Linked DNA regions of Homo sapiens: regions 1 and 2 are each linked to region 3. Evidence: promoter capture Hi-C in human tissues and cell types (Jung and others, 2019). All regions are on one chromosome and are shown on one strand. The core of a region is centred on a gene start or on the middle of the fragment in contact, and the rest is flanking DNA. Distances in the headings are between cores, read along the strand shown. Region 1 overlaps LOC100630923 (LOC100289561-PRKRIP1 readthrough). Region 2 overlaps LOC100630923 (LOC100289561-PRKRIP1 readthrough). Region 3 holds the start of PLOD3 (procollagen-lysine,2-oxoglutarate 5-dioxygenase 3).

Region 1 (3,791 bases), core at 1,292-3,791, 1.2 Mb before region 3:
CTGAATGCCTAAAGAAGTAAATAAAATCGAGGGCAGAAAATAAGTCCAAGGTATTTTTAAAGCAAGGAAGGAAAGAAAATGGAAGATTAAAAGAATGAACCTAAAAGTCTCAAGTTAATTTTTATGTCAGACTTCTGAATGCCCCAAAACAAAACAATTCTGTAAGGCCGAAAGCAGTGGCTCAGGACTGTAATCTCAGCACTTTGGAAGGCTGAGGTGGGCAGATCACTTGAGGCCAGAAGTTCAAGACCAGCATGGCCAACATGGTGAAACCCAGTCTCTATTAAAAATACAAAAATTAGCCAGGCGTGGTGACATGTGCCTGTAATCCCAGCTACTCAGGAGGCTGAGGAAGGAGAATCGCTTGAACCTGAGAGATAGTGGTTGCAGTGAGCGAGAACATACCAGTGCACACCAGCCTGGGTGATAGAACAAGACTCTGTCTCCAAAAAACAAACAAACAAACAAACAAACAAAAAACTCACAACAATTCTCTAATGGCGAGGGAGTAAATAAGTGAGCGATAATGCTGGAGAAAGAGGAAGTGACTGGGTCCCCAGTACAGGTTAGAATGAAAAAATCCCTACCAATGTAAATCAAATGTAAAATCAACAAAAGAGTTCATGTATGTGGTATGTGTGTGGGAAGGAAAGTGATATTTGGGGGTTGGGAGGTGTTACTGAGGGTACCGAGTACATATAAACAACTCTTTAGTCACTCCCAAAGGTCGGGGATGAGTGTTTTTTAACATGTGATAATCTACTAACTTACCTGGACTATGTTGACATGGAAATTCACCTTCCATTATCCACGGCTCCTCTCCCTGCTCCACTTCCTTCACCTCCACTCCATGATGATGTTTGGCTTGGTGATAATCATACCCTGTTAATGGGAAAAGAAGAAGGACTTGGGCAAGCTGCTTGGCTTCAGAATCTCCAAAGTACAAGATGTTGCCACCTCATAAGCTGCATAACAGAAGTGCTCCATTTTTTACCTTATCAAAGTTAGAACCTTTCAATGAAGAATAATATAAACGCTCCAGCTAGTGCCCACAAGGAATTAAATGGTGTCATCACTTATTTCTTCAAACTCAAGGATAAAACCCCATTCAACTGAGAGCATTCAGAAAGCAAGCTATCCTCACCCACAGAAACTAGATGGCTGTAGTTCTCCAACATCACATCCCCGTATGCTATCTTCTCATCAGGGTCCAGTTGCTGCCACTCCTCCTGGGTGAAATCCACAGCCACATCTTTGAATGACACTGGCCCCTGTAATGGCAACATGATCAGAATTGGGAGATATGGAAAAGGGATAGGGGGATATCATTTTACAAAGCTCACTCGTAAAGTTAACCATGAACATTGTATACCTTATTTTATGTTACAGATTATGGAAGGGAAATCATATTGGAAATCATACAGGAAACATATATCCTTTGGGGATATATATATATAAAATATATATTACCCCACAAAAATAAAAACCCAAAACACAACTGAGCTCCTATTTTGCAACTGAACTGAGTTTTGGGGACATGAGATGAGTGAAACACCATGCCTGCTCTGAGAAAGCAGACAACCTAATAAGGAGATAAACATGTAAACAAACACAAGCATTTTACTCCTTGTCACTTCTTTGCTGCCAGGCCCTCCCCTTCTCCTGGACCTCTTCATGTTGGAGTGCCCACCACTCAGTTCCTGGTCTTCTTCTTCCTAACTCACTGCTCTGGGGCTCTCACCTAGTTTCAGCTCCTTGTTCTTTTGTCTTTTTTATTCTCATAGCCAGTGGCCTCTGGCTATCTGCATGGCTGAGTTTTATCTCAAACATCTCAATCTCACAGCAATAAATATTCATTAAATGAATGAATGCCCAAAGCTGTTATTAGAGTAATGCAGACAAGGTGCAGAATGATTTAACAAAAGAGGATCAAATTATTTTAACTTTATGCCATCAGTTAGGCTTCACAGACTCAGTTAACTTGAAGTCCTTAAAGATGAATTGTGTATTCTATGGGATGAAGGGGAAGAAGAATATGATGAGGTGTAAAAAGTACCAATGGCAAACATGAAGCAGCTTCAATTTTTAAGAGGTTGGGGCTGGGCATGGTGGCTCATGCCTATAGTCCTAGCACTTTGGGAGGCCGAGATGGGAGGATCATTTGAGCTCAGGAGTTCGAGGCCACGTTGGGCAACATAGTAAGAACCTCATCTCTACTAAAAATAAAATTTTTTTTAAAAATTGGCTGGGCATCATGGCACATGCCTGTAGTTCCAGCTACCTGGGAGGCTAAGGCAGGAGGATGGCTTGAGCCTGGGAGGTCAAGGCTGCAGTGAGCTGTAAATGCGACACTGCACTCCATCCTAGGCAACAGAGCGAGACCTTGTCTCAAGAAAAAAAAAAGAAAAATGCAAAACTCCTGGGCTCCAGCAATCCACCTGCCTTGGCCTCCCAAAGTGTTGGGATTACAGTCTTGGGCCAGCATACCCTGCCCAAACTTGTAGTTTAGAAAAAGGAAGTGCCCAGTAAGCATGTTGCATTATCCTGTTATTTATAAAGAAGATATCAACAAGGGGTTCAAACCCAGTGATATAGCTAGGACAATGTAGATCCCAAGAGATAGCAGAGGCAGAGCCGCTAGGCTGGTGGGCTGAGAAACTAAAGCAGAACATCCAAGCTTATCCACAGGCAGGCCACAGGAGCTGATAAAATCACCGAGAGAGAGTAATAACCTTCTAGGTTAAGTTAGTCCAGAAGGCAAGGAGGTGGAGGGGTTAGAAGATGGATCAGCCAATAAATAACATAAAATTACATGCCAATACAATACCACTTATATCAATACAAATACCCAAAATGAAACATAACCAAACAAAATCCAGTACCAGATTAAAAACATAATATACAACAGACAAATAGGACTTATTCCAATAATATAGACTAGTTTAATATTTGGAAACCTATTAATATGATAGGCCACTATAACACAGCAAAGAAGAAAAATCTTGTATCCATGAAGATACTTGAAAAAGCTTGACAGAAAAACCTGATTTAAAAAAACAAACTAAAGAAAACAGAAACTGATGGATGCTTCATTAACATCAATATTATGTATATATACAAATATAAATATTACACCCTAATATGCAGTAGTACGTATGATATATATGTGACATATGTATTTCAATTACACACAAGCACATATATAGTTTGTGTATATACACACACACGCACATGCACGTGCACACACACACGCACACACATAAACTCTTATGCCTCAGTCTTCTTGGTCCAAAAGTCAGGATTTTACTTAACAGGGAAAAACTACATACCTTCCCATTAAGATCAAGAACAAGGTATTAATAAAATGCTCATTATCTACAACTAGAGAAGAGAAAACAATTAGAGGAATATAACTAAGGAAAAGTAAAAGTGCTCGGGCGGCCAGGCGCGGTGGCTCACGCCTGTAATCCCAGCACTTTGGGAGGCCAAGGCGGGCGGATCACGAGGTCAGGAGATCGAGACCATCCTGGCTAACACGGTGAAACCCCGTCTCTACTAAAAATACAAAAAATTAGCCGGGCATGGCGGCGGGTGCCTGTAGTCCCAGCTACTCGGGAAGCTGAGGCAGGAGAATGAAGGGAACCCAGGAGGCGGAGTTTGCAGTGAGCCGAGATTGTGCCAGTGCACTCCAGCCTGGGCGACGAGTGAGACTCCATCTCAAAAAAAAAAAAAAAAAAGTGCTCGGGCACGGTGGCTCACGCCTGTAATCCCAACACTTTGGGAGGCTGAGG
Region 2 (3,472 bases), core at 690-3,189, 1.2 Mb before region 3:
TTTTTTTTGTGAGACAGAGTGTTGCTCTGTCGCCAGGCTGGAGTGCAGTGGTGCGAACTCAGCTCACTGCACCTCCGTTTCCCAGGTTCAAGCAATTCTCCTGCCTCAGCCTCCCGAGTAGCTGGGACTACAGGTGCACGCCACCACGCCCGGCTAATTTTTTGTCTTTTAGTAGAGACAGGGTTTCACCATGTTGGCCAGGATGGTCTCAATCTCCTGACCTCATGGTTCGCCCGCCTCGGCCTCCCAAAGTGCTGGGATTACAGGCATAAGCCACTGCGCCTGGCTGGGAATTTTTTTTATTAGGCAAAGCATGGGAATTGACATCAGGGGTAGGGTATGCAGGCTGGGCTGGGCAAAGCACGTGAGGGTATGCAGGTCGCATATCTGGTTTTGAGGGTATGCAGGTCGCATATCTGGTTGCGATGGTTATCTTAAGTAATGAGTCACCTGGTAGTCTGGCTGGTGGCAACAAGGGTGTCAATCAATTGTTCAGCATTCCTTCCCGAGGTGGGACACTCCGCAAGCTTCATTTGATATTTGGATCTCCTAAGGCCAGTCTCTGGAATTCTTTTTTTTTTTTTTTTTTTTTTGAGACAGTTTCGTTCTTTATTTTCTTTGTATGACTAAAGCCTCGGGGTTAGCAGCTATATTGTCAGCGAGGCAATGGTGTGGGTTTTGTGATCAGTGGGACAAAAGAAGGAAAAAGGGAAAGGATGTGAAGGAGAAGCTCTGTCCAGTTCCTGTTCTGTTTCCCTGGGAGCTGGACAGACATTCACAGCTGGGTCTTGGTGTTCTCTTGTCAAACAAAAGTAATTTCCAGGACACCAACATCACACAAGACCATTCCGTGACCACAAAAACCTGGTGTGGTGGCTCATGCCTGTAATCCCAGCACTTTGGGAGGCCGAGGTGGGCAGATCACCTGAGGTCAGGAGTTTGAGACCAGCCTGGCCAACATGGTGAAACCCCGTCTCTACTAGAAATACAAAAAATAGCCAGGCGTGGTGGTGCACACCTGTAATCCCAGCTACTCGGGAGGCTGAGGCTGGAGAATTGCTTGAACCTGGGAGGCAGAGGTTGCAGTGAGCTAAGATTACGCCTTTGCACTCCAGCCTGGGCGACAGAGCAAGACTCTGTCTCAAAATAAATAAATAAATAAAAATAAAAATAAAAGAAACATTTGCTGGAGGGACATGGGCTCCTAGGGACAGGGTCGCCCTCCCACTGAGTCCCCAAGAGGATGAACAGGTGGACAAGTGGATGGTACCTGGAGGGTGAAGTGTTTGTTCTCCAAAGGTCATTCCTGGCTGCCCAATAGTGGGTGGTTTTCTAGGAGCTCAGGGTGGAATTAAGGGTCCTTAGTGGCCCAGGTCTGTCACTGGAACCTGGGGAGGGCTTGGCCTGGCTGGGGCCATGCACACAAACTCACCCAGGATCACACACATTAGCAACCAGTACCTCACTTTTCTCCAAACACTCCACAGAACGAAGGTTTTTGTCTACAAAACAAAGCATCTTTTCCTCCTTGGAGAACTCCCATACAGGCTTCTCAACTTGGCCAAAATGCTACCTCCTCCAAGAAGCCTTCTCAGATTGCCTCTCCCACCCCTCACTTCCAGGAAGTGAATTGCTCCCTTCTTGGTGCTCTCCCAGCTCTGAATCCCAATAACTGGTGAAGTAGTTACCACTATGTCCTCACCATCTGTGTCCCCATGGGCTTGGCAGTGTGGTGGGCTGGGCCAGAATCCCAGCATCTAACCCTGGCATGGTGTAGAGTGGGTACTTCCAGGATGCTTGGAGAATAAAGGAATGAAAACATATATGAAGACTGAATAGACGTGTCAGTGAGATGAGCAAGTGATGGATGAATGAATGAATAAGGACATTAAGAGAAAGAATGAAGACTCAATCAATAAAAGGACACTTAATAAATGAACATGTGAGGCCACGGACTATCAGAAAGCCACAGAGCCAGGAGTGCGGGGCAGTGTCTGTCCGGTTGGTAAAGGTCTCCCTGGCACCCCCAGCCTCAGTGTCTGTCACAGAGCTGGTGCTTGGCAGATATCTGCTGGATGAAAGTTAAGCGAATGAATGGAGTGAAGGAATGCATGAAGGCAAGAGAGAGTTAAGGCATGTGGGTGTGAAGGAGCTGGTAATAACTTCAGTGTCTAAGTCTGGTCTAAATTGTGGACATATTTATCAGCAGATATATGTTTTTCAATAGACGGGGTCTCACTCTGTCACCAGGCTGGAGTGCGGTGGTGCCAGTATAGCTAACTGCAGCCTCGAACTCCTGGGCTCAAGGGATCCTCCTGACTCAGTGTCCAGAAAAGCTAGGGCTACAGGCAGGTACCACTATGCCCAGCTAATTTTTCACATTTTTTGTAGACATGGGGTATTGCTATGTTTCCCAGGCTGACCTCAAGCAATTCTTCAGCCTTGGACTCCTGAGTAGCTATGACAACAGGCTGGTGCCACCACACTCAGCTAACTTTTTATTTTTATTTTTTGAGAGGGAGTTTCTCTCTTGTCACCCAGGCTGGAGTGCAATGGCGCGATCTCGGCTCACTGCAACCTCTGCCTCCCAGGTTCCAGCGATTCTCCTGCCTCAGCCTCCTGAGTAGCTGGGATTACAGGCACCCGCCACCATGCCCGGCTAATTTTTGTATTTTTAGTAGAGACAGGGTTTCGTCATGTTGGCCAGGCTGGCCCCGAACTCCTGATCTCAGGTGATCCACCCGCCTCAGCTTCCCAAAGTGCTGGGATTACAGGCGTGAGCCACCTTGCCCAGCCTAATATTTTATTTATTTATTTATTTATTTATTTATTTATTTATTTATTTGGTAGAGCTGGAGTCTTGCTATGTTGCCCAGGCTATCATCCTGATTCTACTGAAATGGAACTGAGGCCCAGAGGAGAAAGCAATTGGCTCAGGGCCACACAGACTCAAACCCAGCAGTCTAGCCCTGGGTCTGTGACAGCCTGAGTGATTATGTGACTCACACAGATGGGACAGGGCCCCAGCAGACCCTGGCGGGAACCCTGGTGGCACCCTCCTAGGTGGCACCTTCCTGGTGGCACCTTCCTGGGGCTGAGGTCAGATTTGAGGTCCGGCTCCCTGGGATGAAAGGCCGCCTCACAGATGCCCACAAGTCTCACACCCAGGGTGATGTCCCTTCTGCCACCAGAGGGCAGCAAATCCCCACCCAGGTCCCGCCACTAGGAGCCTTAATCCACCTTTCCTGAGATCCAGAACTGGGCACCCAGGGAGCAAGGTCTACTGGCTGGAAGATACCAGTGCGTTGCAGACTGGCAGACTGGGTGCCACCTACCCTGGGCTTGCACAAGCAACCTAACCTCTCTAAGGCTGTTTCCTTATGTGCAAAATTGGTACAAGCGAATCTACCTTGTCGCTGGCACATGGGTAAAATGACGTTTGGACATGCAGTGTCCAGCAGAGCCTGACATT
Region 3 (3,685 bases), core at 150-2,649:
TGGCTTCCTAAGCGACTTGCTTTTTCTTGCTTCACTGCCTTTGCACGTGAGGTTCCCACTGAGAGAAACCCTAACTAGACTTTCAAGACTCAATTCAAGCTTTTTCATTTTTCCTTCAAGCTTTCACAGTCCCCTGCCTCCCAGAACCTGGGCTAGATGCCACGTCTCCCTGTTCCCAGGCGCTGTGCTTCCCTCTGCCATAGCACAAATCACAAATCACAGTAAAATACAGTGTTAGGTCTGCGTTTCTGCCCCCCTTCCAGAAAAAGCCAATGCTTGGATAAGAGGGGTCTTTCTCCTCTTCATCCCCAGCGCCCGGCTTGGAGCAGGCACCAATAAAACGTGAATGAAGGGTCAACGCCAGGACCCGAGGGCTGAGGAAGGGATTTACGAGGAATAGCTGGGGCCGGGCGCGGCAGCTCACGCCTGTAATCCCAGCACTTTGGAAGGCCCACGCAGGAGGATCGCTTTGAGGCCAAGAGTTGGAGACCAACCTGGGCAACATAGCGAGAGCCCGTCACCACATAACAAATTAAAAATTAACCAGGCGTGGGGCCTCATGCTTGCAGTTCCAGCCACTCCGGAGGCTGAGGTGGGAGGATGGTTTGATCCCAGGAAATCGAGGCTGCAGTGAGCTATGACTATGCCACTGCACTCCAGCCTAGGCGAAAGAGCGAGACCAAAAAAGAGGAATGACTAGGTAAGAAAATTCTAGGACTGACTTGGGAAGGGGAAGGGGGCGAACCGCGGGGGCTCACATACCCGAAGTTTTCTTCTCCACCATTGGCACAACACAACTGTCGGAAGAAACTGCTGCGCACGCGTACTAACCCCAAGGCTTTAGTAGGGGCGCCATCACTTCCGGTAGCTTGTACTTCTGCGCGTGCGCCACAGCTTTGACTCATTACGTGGCGTTTCCTTGGAGACAAGAAAGCTTTTCGCCATGTTTTATAGGGGCAAAACCACTTCCGGCCTCAGTGTGGAGGTGTAAATCTTGTGGGAGCCACGAAATGGGTCATTTTAAAGATGTGGTCACGGTGTTCTTACAAGAAATCTTATTTTCCTTTGGTCCTTGTGAAGATGCTGTGATCACAAAGGCAGCCCCTGGAGCTTCTCCGGGCAGAAGAGGAGGTGGGCTGGACTGTCAAAGAAAGTGGCTGGCTTCCGTGGGCAATCCGAGGTTCCTAGTGGCCCTCTGCAGAAAGCTGAACTCCCAGTTCCCCCAGGCCTCCGTCCCGCGGCGGACTCCTAGGCTTCCTCCCTCCCTGTCGCCGCCAGCCTCTCGCTCTCCCCGTCTTCCGCCCGCACTCTCTGGGCAGGGCTGCGGCCAGGACCCGCCCCCGCGTCCCGCCCGACCCTCCGCCAGGGGTCACTTCCCCTGTCCAGGTTTCAGCTTCCACATGTGTCAAGCGGCTGGCTCAGCCCAGAGTCCCTGTCTCCCGCCCGCCGGCCCGAGCCGCCGCCCCTCCCCCGCCTCCCGTGCGCCCGGGACAATCCTCGCCTTGTCTGTGGCGCCGGCATCTGGAGCTTTCTGTAGCCTCCGGATACGCCTTTTTTTCAGGGCGTAGCCCCAGCCAAGCTGCTCCCCGCGGCGGCCGCACAGCAGCCCGAGCGCCCCCTTTCCAGAGCTCCCCTCCGGAGCTGGGATCCAGGCGCGTAGCGGAGATCCCAGGATCCTGGGTGCTGTCTGGGCCCGCTCCCCACCATGACCTCCTCGGGGCCTGGACCCCGGTTCCTGCTGCTGCTGCCGCTGCTGCTGCCCCCTGCGGCCTCAGCCTCCGACCGGCCCCGGGGCCGAGACCCGGTCAACCCAGGTGAGATCCCGGGGAGGCCCGGCACGGCCGAGGGGGCAGAGGCTGGCGTGCCTGCCAGCCTGGCCCGGAGAGGGTCGGAGGCTCGAGGAGGTGTCTGGCCCGTCCCCCGCCCAGCGTGCTCTTGAGGCTGAGTCGCGCCAAGCCCCTCGCCCATCACTACCCTGAACTGGGGTTTCCAGCCTCCCTATGCAAAGGGACTCGGAATTCCTGGGCACCACTCCCACCCTGCCCTCCTTGGGGTCAGAGTGTTCCTGGGTGAGAAGAGTTTAAGAATGGGAAGGAAGAAAGGGAGGGAAGTCGAGTGAGAGGGAGGACAGCAAAGCACGTGAGGCCCGGAGCTGGGCGGTGGATCTCAAGTGCCATTTCCCTCTGGTAACAGAGAAGCTGCTGGTGATCACTGTGGCCACAGCTGAAACCGAGGGGTACCTGCGTTTCCTGCGCTCTGCGGAGTTCTTCAACTACACTGTGCGGGTGAGGAGAGGGAAAGGCCCCTGGGAGGGGGTCCCAGCAGGAGGGGTGGGCTGAAGTCTGGATGCCCAGGTCCCCACGGTAAGCCTGGTCAGGAGTTCCCCCCACAACTCCCCACCCCTTGCCTGGCACGGGGCAATCTTCTCCACAGACCCTGGGCCTGGGAGAGGAGTGGCGAGGGGGTGATGTGGCTCGAACAGTTGGTGGAGGACAGAAGGTCCGGTGGTTAAAGAAGGAAATGGAGAAATACGCTGACCGGGAGGATATGATCATCATGTTTGTGGATAGGTAACGGGGCTGGGGATAGGGAGCGGGGTAAGGATGCTGAGGTTCCCAGTGGACCCCTGCCCATCCTCCCCTTCCTCACCCAGCTACGACGTGATTCTGGCCGGCAGCCCCACAGAGCTGCTGAAGAAGTTCGTCCAGAGTGGCAGCCGCCTGCTCTTCTCTGCAGAGAGCTTCTGCTGGCCCGAGTGGGGGCTGGCGGAGCAGTACCCTGAGGTGGGCACGGGGAAGCGCTTCCTCAATTCTGGTGGTGAGTGGCAGAGTGCCCAAGGCAGAGGGGCCAAGAGCGGTGGGACACAGAGTGTTAAAGGCGCCTGAGGGCTGGAGACAGCCTGGGGGACAGGCCCTGGGACCCTGGGAGTCTCGAGGTCAACACTCCCCCTCCCCGCCAGGATTCATCGGTTTTGCCACCACCATCCACCAAATCGTGCGCCAGTGGAAGTACAAGGATGATGACGACGACCAGCTGTTCTACACACGGCTCTACCTGGACCCAGGACTGAGGGTAGGGAAGGCAGAGGAGTGGGCGCATCCCGCAGCTCTGTGGGAGTGGAGGCCTCAGGCTGAATGGGATTTGGGGAGCAAAGGGGGTTGCAAAGAGAAAAATGTGTGCCTGGGCGTGGTGGCTCACGCCTGTCATCCAAGACTTTTGGGAGGCTTAGGCAGGAGGATTGCTTGAGTCCAGGAATTTAAGACCAGCCTGGACAACATAGTTGAGACCTCATCTCTACAAAAAAAAAGAAAGAAAAAATTAGCCAGGCTTCATGGTGTACGCCTGTAATCCCAGCTACTTGGGAGGCTGAGGTGGGACCATCACTTGAGCCCAGGAGTTTGAGGATGTTTTGCACCACTGCATTCCAGCCTGGGTGACAGAATGAGACTCTGTCTCTCACAAAAAAAGGAAAACCATGGTGGCTCATGCCTATAATCCCAGCACTTTGGGAGGCTGAGGCGGGTGGATCACCTGAGATTGGGAGTTTGAGACCAGCCTGGCCAACATGGTGAAACCCCGTCTCTACTAAAAATACAAAAATTAGCCAGGCGTGGTGACACTCTCCTGTAGTCCCAGTTACTTGGAAGGCTGAAGCAAGAGAATCAATTAAACCGGGAGGCAGAGG

Evidence for each region. The method cuts DNA at HindIII sites, captures the fragments that hold promoters and counts their contacts. A contact is called where the count stands out against the background at its distance.
Region 1: a fragment that was not itself captured here is called in contact with the fragment with the promoter of PLOD3 in region 3 in 1 of the 25 tissues and cell types used here (dorsolateral prefrontal cortex).
Region 2: a fragment that was not itself captured here is called in contact with the fragment with the promoter of PLOD3 in region 3 in 1 of the 25 tissues and cell types used here (dorsolateral prefrontal cortex).

The regions. Positions count from the first base shown.
Region 1 is chr7:102,373,303-102,377,093 of GRCh38, reverse strand. It overlaps LOC100630923 (LOC100289561-PRKRIP1 readthrough), which reads right to left. Exons shown (of 9, transcript NR_038967.1): 3 at 1,145-1,271; 4 at 772-882. It also overlaps the pseudogene LOC100289561. Among named protein-coding and RNA genes, the nearest start is that of SPDYE6, 19 kb to the right of the region's middle. The HindIII fragment of the contact is 5,084 bases long and covers 1-3,791 here.
Region 2 is chr7:102,390,640-102,394,111 of GRCh38, reverse strand. The region is part of intron 4 of LOC100630923 (LOC100289561-PRKRIP1 readthrough); the gene reads right to left. Among named protein-coding and RNA genes, the nearest start is that of PRKRIP1, 4.0 kb to the left of the region's middle. The HindIII fragment of the contact is 6,252 bases long and covers 1-3,472 here.
Region 3 is chr7:101,215,295-101,218,979 of GRCh38, reverse strand. PLOD3 (procollagen-lysine,2-oxoglutarate 5-dioxygenase 3) reads left to right here and starts at 1,399. Exons shown (of 19, transcript NM_001084.5): 1 at 1,399-1,814; 2 at 2,194-2,285; 3 at 2,434-2,570; 4 at 2,654-2,817; 5 at 2,960-3,072. The coding sequence starts at 1,706. It overlaps ZNHIT1 (zinc finger HIT-type containing 1), which reads right to left and starts at 815. Exons shown (of 5, transcript NM_006349.3): 1 at 763-815. The coding sequence starts at 784. RefSeq lists enhancers at 468-1,009, 1,103-1,222, 1,771-2,293 and silencers at 1,323-1,602, 1,743-1,792, 1,853-1,972. The HindIII fragment of the contact is 7,144 bases long and covers 528-3,685 here.